2 separate regions of the Homo sapiens genome follow, and region 2 is linked to region 1. Evidence: promoter capture Hi-C in 16 types of primary human blood cells and fetal thymus (Javierre and others, 2016). All regions are on one chromosome and are shown on one strand. The core of a region is centred on a gene start or on the middle of the fragment in contact, and the rest is flanking DNA. Distances in the headings are between cores, read along the strand shown. Region 1 holds the start of CA8 (carbonic anhydrase 8). Region 2 overlaps LOC105375858 (a long non-coding RNA gene).

Evidence for each region. Contacts are between HindIII fragments. The CHiCAGO score rates a contact against its expected background, and 5 or more counts as called.
Region 2: a fragment that was not itself captured here is called in contact with the fragment with the promoter of CA8 in region 1 in 1 of 17 cell types (naive B cells); the score reaches 5.1 in naive B cells.

What each region holds. Positions count from the first base shown.
Region 1 is chr8:60,278,994-60,283,133 of GRCh38, forward strand. It overlaps CA8 (carbonic anhydrase 8), which reads right to left and starts at 2,407. Exons shown (of 9, transcript NM_004056.6): 1 at 2,055-2,407; 2 at 696-887. The coding sequence starts at 2,154. RefSeq lists an enhancer at 1,883-2,389 and a silencer at 2,382-2,590. The HindIII fragment of the contact is 5,420 bases long and covers 1-4,140 here.
Region 2 is chr8:58,740,183-58,744,322 of GRCh38, forward strand. It overlaps LOC105375858 (a long non-coding RNA gene), which reads right to left. Exons shown (of 3, transcript XR_928924.3): 3 at 530-642. Among named protein-coding and RNA genes, the nearest start is that of NSMAF, 82 kb to the left of the region's middle. The HindIII fragment of the contact is 4,226 bases long and covers 208-4,140 here.

The DNA.
Region 1 (4,140 bases), core at 1,157-3,656:
TTCCTACGATAAAGCCAAAAACTGATTTCCTTGGTAATTACCTAACAACTTTTGCACAGAACATTTCAGATCCATCTCAAATAGGTTTGCAAGTGGTAGGAGAAGTTTCATGGGATGGAACTTAAATAAATAAATAAATAAATAAATAAAAGGAAGAGGTTTGTTTACCATTTAAATCTCTGGCTGAGTTTAGAGGCTGTTTCTTATTGTTATTAGTTAAAATTATTTTTGGCAAACTAATACAGTAGAGAAAATTAACCTGAGAAGTCTACCTTGAATGCCACGTTATGTCAATAAATTCTAATCTTTGGTTTCACAAAGTAGCAAAACAGAGAATTATGATTATCTAAGTGATTTAAGCTAATCAACAATTTTGGACAAAACGCAGATTACTGCACCTGCATGTACCTGTCCTCATATTTCACAAGGTATAAGGTGATCAAACTAAGGTTTTTCCAGTAACATCATAAGAAGCAGAACAACCGACTGATAATCTTCATAATTTCACTCTTTTGTCCTTTCAAAATTGTTTCAGAAGGTAATTCCCAAAAATGCTTTATATTATAATACAAAGGTATCCTGAAAATAGAGATACGTCAGTTGTACTTTTTAAATTGTGCAAGTTAAATCACAGTTCAATAACTCTACGCTGACTTCTAGTTTAAAAGACCACACAAACATATTTTCTAAAATACCTGATTTTGACTTCAGGATAACCTGAATGGTATGTCCATCATTGGTGACTTCACAGTCTCGGCACACCACATAATTTGGGGAGAGGCGGACATCCAACAGCGAGGGGTCATACCTAGCCTCTCTTGAGTTTAGGTTAATAGGAGACTGGTATTCCCCATTAGCATCAGGAAACACCAGACCCCACTCAACACCTAAGAACAAAATGAAATAAATTAAAAACAGGTTAAAAAATAAATTACAGTAAAATTTAACATGTAAAAACTAAACACTTAGAACCCTTGATATCATGAAGAGAGTAATGATACCATCACTATACAGATGAAATATGGTAATTCTATTTGTTTTTGCATTCATTATTTGAATGATCTGTTATTATCAAATACCATACACAAAATCCCGGACTAGCAAAATATTCTATTTGTATTTGTCAACAAAGACATAATAATTTATGATTCTAGGAAATTTGGGTCATTTTTAAGTGATTAGGAAAAAAGAATACCAGAACAATTTCTTCTGCTTATTAGTTCAATTACGTTCAGTACCTGGGAAACAGCTGTAACTTTCAACATACTTAGTGACAGTCAGAACCCTAACTCTCATGCTAGTAAATAGACGCCCCTTATCAGAAATGCAAGTGTAGTATTTTAAAGTGTGCATATGTATATATCTGTGTACATACATATTCCCATAGTCTTTCCAAATTTTTTATAATTAAAATTATATATTCTATATTGGTTTCAACATATGTAGTAAACATCAGCACTACTGGTTGGCTCTAATAGGAGCCCTAGGTCTTTAGGAATAAATCTAGGAAACTCGAGTTTTTCAGAAAGTCAACCGCTTCTCGCCAAACCCAATGATTCAGTCTGAAATTTAGGACATGTTTTAGAAAGACTTGAGCATTGCTAGCAGGCTTCACGAAAAGACCAGAGGCAGAAACACTTTCTCCCCAAAGTCTCCAAGCCAAAAACGAATTCTTCACGCTAACACTGTCTTCCTCAGGTGTTTAGTAAAATGTACCGCTGCTCTTCTTGACTACTCAGAAGACATAAAAGGTACAGCCACGGCTTGGAGGCTAGCCCGCCCTCCGGACCGCAGCAGGTGCGAACGCCAGCCCTGCGGAAGGCTCCCGGGTGAGAGCGCAGGCGGCGGAAGAGCGCAGGCGGCGAGCACGCCTCCCTGGAGCGCCTCCCGCCCGAAACGCACCAGGGGAGTGGGAAAGTGGCAGAGACCCCCGTGGGAAAGAGGGGGCGTGGGGGTGCTCGGAGCGCGCAGCGGCAGCAGGACTCGAGTCCCGCGCTCGGCGAGACACTGACGCCGCCGCGGGACCCCGGACACCCCGACTCGCGGCCACTTACCTTCCTCGTAGCCCCACTCCACACCCTCCTCTTCTTCCTCCTCATCCTCTTCCTTCTCGGGGAAGGCGACGGTATCTTCGATGAAGCTCAGGTCCGCCATGGGAAGGCCGCGGGGCCCCTCGGCGCTCTCGGCAGCAGTGCCTGCGCCTTCGCTGGGCGCGGGGCTGGAGCCGGAGCGGAGCGCGCGTGGGGGAGTGTGAGCACGCGTGAGCGGCAGTGTGAGTGCGAGAGCGCCTCCGGGTGTGAACCGCAGTGTGAGTGCAAGCAGGCGTGCGTTCGGACCGAGTGTTCCAGAGACCCGCGTGGGAAGCGCGTCCGGAGGCCCCAGCAGAGCGAGGGAGCGGCTGTGGCCTGGGGAGCGAGCGCCTGGCGAATTTTATACCCGACCGGGGCGTGTCTGGTACGCGAGGATCCGCCCCCTTCTCTCTCTGGCCGTTGGGGCCAGGGGAGCCGACAGTTAGAATGCGCCTCGGGGCGACTAGTCCCAAGTCACGGAAACCTCGGCGCATCCCCGCCCGCCCTTCCCCCGGGGTCGCCCCCGCCGCCTCCTGGCGCTTCCTCGCTGCGGCGACTCCTGCTTGGCCGCCCGAGCCTTCCTTCCAGAAGCCCGCAAGTCTCCCAAGGTCACTCGGGACCCCTGTGTGCCTGGCCTAGCCCAGAGGCTGCTCACCTATTCATTTTCATCCGTACTCCAGGAAATACCAAAAAGAAGGGGTCCTGGAGGAGAGAGATGGGCTGCCGTGGGTAGGAGAAAGGAGAGGGCTAGGAGACCCCGTAACACAATAAAAAGAGACTCTCCAGCGGAATCTTCTTAGTATCTTCTGAGTATTTACTTTTTAAATCGTCCGTTCAGCGCAGTGGAAACGAGTTTGGAAATTTTTCCAAGAAAGTTCTATTAATTCCTAAAAACGTTTAAGAAAAGAAAATGGTTGTTATCTAGAGAAGTAGCTATGATTTAGGGTTGTGTTTTTTTTTTTTTTTTTTCCAGAAAAGGGTATTGTTTCAAAGCAGGGCTAGCAGAAGGCAGTAGACAGAGGGTGTTCGCTGTCAGAGTCTGGGGCGCTGCTGCAGGCTCACCTGGCTGTGTACACAGCTCCCATTCACCTAGTGAAATCGTGTAAATAATGAAGTGCACACATTGCATAACAAACAGGAACTCTTCTGATCCAAAGAGGTGGCATTGTTACCCTTAAACGTGCTTCTCAGTCTAGTGTTAACGACTTCAGCCCTCTGTTCCTGTGCCTTTTAAAAGCCCTGGTCAGTAACCCCTAAGTAGGTTAACTCCACATTTTTAGAAGATATATGTGCACAATAAACTCGAGTTAGGACCTTAAGTACAATTTGTTTTTTATATGCTCTGGTCATTCATGAAGATATCTATTTGCACTTTGAATAACCTGTTCCTAAATCACACCAGCCTTATGAATGCATAATTCCTCAAATAAGGATGGAAATGATCCGTTTGGGAATGTTTAGTTTCAGTGCTCATATCCTTTACTGCCTGCTAAGCACCTCCACTTTTTAAAAAGACACTTCATAGCTTTTAAAAAAAAAAAATTACAAACTGCTCCAGAAAGTACACTGAGATGGAAAGAAGTGGGGGGAACCCTCAACTCGCTCAATTCTGCCACTTTCTGGAAGGTTTAACCAAATATATGGAAAACTACTGGCCAACATTAGCTTGGAGGATAACCGGTGGATTTTAAGCATTCATATAATTTCTCTTTTCCTTAACTGTGCAGAGGACTGAAACAGTTTGAGAAACTAAATTCATTTTTCACTCACTGCATTCTGGGTGTTCTTTAGTGGACGGTCGTTTGCATCTTTGCAAGCCTGGGACTGGCAGAAGCAGAAGCCTACCCCAAAGCCAGAGCTATTAAAAATAATAAGCACTACTGAAAATATTAACTACTTTTCACTGAAGGTCTTCTAAAAGGAACATTTATTTTTCCTTTCTTGAAAACTTTTTTGTAATCTTCTATTTGTTTTAAGTTTCTTTTTAGAAGTATGTTCACACGTTAATTAAATGCCACAGCTAAGGAAGCCCATACAAAGGCTATGAAGGAATTGGATAATAAAAGCACTG
Region 2 (4,140 bases), core at 1,071-3,570, 1.5 Mb before region 1:
ATGTATGGTTCACCCACTGTTTTGATGAACTCTTTACTTACACGTATTCAGAACAAGACTGTAAATTCTTTGTAGGCAAAGACTGTCTTGTTAACTGTTGCACATGTAAACCCTACCAAACATCTAACAAATATATGTGTTTGAACAAAAGAACAGGGTCTCAGGTGGATATGAAGCTCTGAAAGTTGGCAAGGAGGTTGCAAATGAAGCTTTGTGTATCCATTAAGGTTACAGCAAGAAACAAAAGGACTTAAGGGAAGATAGTTTAATGAAGGGATCATTTACAGAGGTGTGGGCATGGTTAAGGGAGCCAAGTTGAACAGACAGCTGTTCATACCCCTAGGCCTGAAAGGGCAAAGGGAAGATTGAGTTTCAGCAGAGTTTATGAGGCTGGAGCCAGGGAGGGGTAGTCTGGCAGGAGATGTAGTAACAAAGGAAACAGCCCCTGTCAGCATGGGGCACCAATACAGGGAGGGGAGAAGGGAGAGAAATATCCTCACTTCTCTTTTCTCTTGCCCTCTCATCTCTTGCTGATGCCTCCTATTGGCCAAATCCACTGGAGGGCAGGGGAGCTCGAGCCAGATAGTCTATGGGAGGCAGTTTCTCCATGAAGCATGCTCAAAGTCAGGATGGGGAACAGACCTACAAATAATATGTACAATATAGTATTAAACATGTACAAGAGACTACTAGTCCGTGGTGAGATCTTGCTTAGTTCCCAAAGAAGGTAACAATTAGTTTAACTTCTAAACATTGACTTGCAATAAATTAGTCTTGGATTTCCATAACCAGGCAGCTTCTGCAAACACACTTCCATTTTGGAGCTGTTTCCTTTTGATCAGAGGAAACTCCTTCCTTGAGTCCGGTTGTACAGTTGCCTCTTTCATGTATTCATATCCCTGACCACATCAGATATGAGCCAAGATAAGGACTCCCCCTTAGATATTTGCCCACCTGGAAGATAAATATTTCTTCCTTAGAACTAACTTTTGCTCCCAGAGATAAATTCTGACTTTCTTCCCTCTGTGCTAGATATACCTTGGGCCAAACATCCAGGATTTACCTAGCATATGTCCAGGGGAAGGGGCGGGATGGGACCCAGTTATGGCCACTAACTTTGTCCACTTGGAAAAAAAACTCTTAGAATACTTTTTCTATCTCTTTATCCTTTTCAAGTGTTTTTTGCTATGACTGGTAAGGCACAAGAATTTGAAACTAGGACATGGGAGCATGTTCCTTCTTTGGCTGATTATTGAGTTATCTCAGTACTCAGATAAGCGTCTATATCTTAGGGATAATAAACACTAGTTAATCTCCCCCTCTTACTCAGTAACCTGTCTCAAGAGAAAGCCTTCCCTTGTTATTGGGCTTCTTCCCCTTTCTGAATTGTTACCTGTTTCAGACATTTCCCTGAGGACAATCGTGAAGCCTCTCTTATAAGGCTGTTCTTAGGAGGGTTATTATACCAGATTAGACAGCCACCTCTCACTCTGTTTAATTTTGTAGTTATTCAACACTGAAAATAAATTTCTTGATCCTCTTTCAATTGATTAATCATAGCATAATTAAGGAAGAGTAAAAGACAGCTGACTCATCTAGTTTACATGTTTAATTTTATCTAAATCACACATTCACAAGGTAAGATGAAAGATGAAACAGAATATGAAAGAATATATATATACCATATATCTATTCTTCCTTAGTATATATAATGTGTATTTGTAATAAACACATCAATATATAATTCATAGTAGTATATGTATAATGTAAGAAAGTACAAAAAATAATATAATGTGCAGCATGTGTCTTGAGGTTTAACTCATTCTTTCTCCAAGAGCCGATCTAACAAAATAGGATAGTTCATGGAATTCAATCACATGGAGTGAGTTTAGAGTATGCCTCCTTACTCTCTCTCCATACTGGGTTTAGATGCCGTTTGATTGACTACCTGTCCCATGGAGGGAAGATGCTATTAGATTTCTCCTCTAAAGATATGTTCCTTCTTTATCACAAATTCCAAGGTTCACTTTTTACTATGACTTCTGGAGCCAGAATAGAATGTCACTTTCAACTCTGATGGCTTCCCGTGTGAGTGTAATGTAACAAGGAGGATAAACTAGATCACACTCCGTGTCCACAGTTGTCCTAATTTATTGTGGACAACAAAACTGAATAGCAGTGGGAGAAGAATTCACTTGAGTTACTATCTAAAAATCCTTCTGGGCCAAGGAAAGAAGGGTTGTTGGCGTTTCACTTTTCAGTTCATGTTTATCCTTGGCCTTCTTCAGATGACAATGAATTTGCTGCACAGGCTCAGCTTGCCCCAGAAAGATCCTGAGTGGTGGTGAATGTTCTCTCCTTCCTTTGCCCCATCTCCAGTGATAGTGCTAAATACTTGTGGGGTAATCTGACACAGCCTTAAAACAATCCAATTTTTCAGTTCTGGGGAATGCTCGAAAGACAGGAGACAATGTTACAATCTGCCATAAGGCATTCTTTAAGCTAGCTCTCCTGTAAGCAGAAAACTAGTTTTATTGAGAAGAGCTACCTTTAATCAGAAAAAAATACCAAGGAAATATGTTACATTGATTTTACCACTAAAAATTGAGAATCTGGGGCAAAGGCAGTTGATATGAGTCAGAACCTTGAAGTTGATGAGCTACGTGCAGCTCAGCATGGCTCCTGATTGCTTAGCGTGATCTGCTGAATGAGCATGTCCATGTCTATACAGCCCCTGAGCTCAATCGTCTTGAGGGTTTACACACAACTGTGTTGAGCACAGTTGTTTATATTAACACATAATTCATCCAATTCCAATTATTAAAATAATTGGCCACAATACAGTTTACCCAGATAATTTTAGCGTTCTTATCAAATTGACCGTTAGCTAGTGACTTGAGGATTCTTTGATCAGCTTCTATGGACCAAGAAAAATACAACCAAACTGTCATAAATTCAGTTGAGCCTTGAAAGTATTGTGGCAACATGCTGCTAGAAATGTCCATTTGGTGAAAGGCACAAATGTTGGCAGTTGTCCATACTAACCCTGCTCATGTGCAGAGATTCCTTCAAAATCATTAGGACAGCTAGCTCTTTCTTCATTAAAATAAATGCTTACTGAAGTCGTACATTAGCTGTCTCTCTGTTTTGCAATCAATTAAGGCAGGTTTTCAACATCTAAATTTCCCCAAATGTTCTCTAATGGGTCTCATTGATATTCTACTTTTCAAAATTCAGATATAAAAGGCATTGGCATCATTAATATCCTTTTCAAAAAAAAGTCTTTCAGTTCATTTTAATGGCTTTACATTCCCCCCCCAAATTTGGGTGGAATCCTTCTGTATCTGGGTTATAACATAGGCCCAATAAAATCAGTGTATGAATATAGTACCACAGCTGTTCAAAACATCACTACCACTATCGCCGTCATTGAACTGTTTACTATGCACTACACAGGAGTAAAAAATTCTCCAGTAAAGTGATCAAAATTTTAACACATATGAACATACTTAAAACCTAAGTTTTGTATGCTATTTAAAAACCTAATATACTATCAGAATGAGTTCATAGTAAAGTTCTGTCTTTCTGCAAAACTGCCTGTAGCTAATCTTACCAATGAGGCATGCATGAGAATACTGCTATCTTCTCATACATATTACTAAATTTGGTAATATTATGTTTTTTTTTTGGAGGAGGAAAAGTATATAAAATTTTATTTTCAGATTATATCATTTATTTAGGGTTTTATTTTTCTATTTCTATTTCTATACTTTTCATATGACTTTCAGTATCACATTATGAGAACGAAGTTATGTGATTCTGTTCCAGCACTAATAATATTTTATTTAAGATATAGGACAGCTTTTTCTGTCTCTTGGGGACAATGTGGACCATATATAGTAAACTACTTAGTGGTTCTGGAAGGATAAGTGCTTTTTTTCTAGTTCTGCTGTGCAACATAGGTTCTCTCCCTTGTGGAGAGGTGAAACACGGTAAAAAATAAAATGTATTAAAGTAGTGACATGAAACATTCTTAGCATTCTCTTCTTTAGTATCCTACAAACTCAATAACTCTCAGAAATTTAATATCTGTCAGCATTTTGACAACCAAGAGCCCATTTGATTCCAAAATGTTTGATA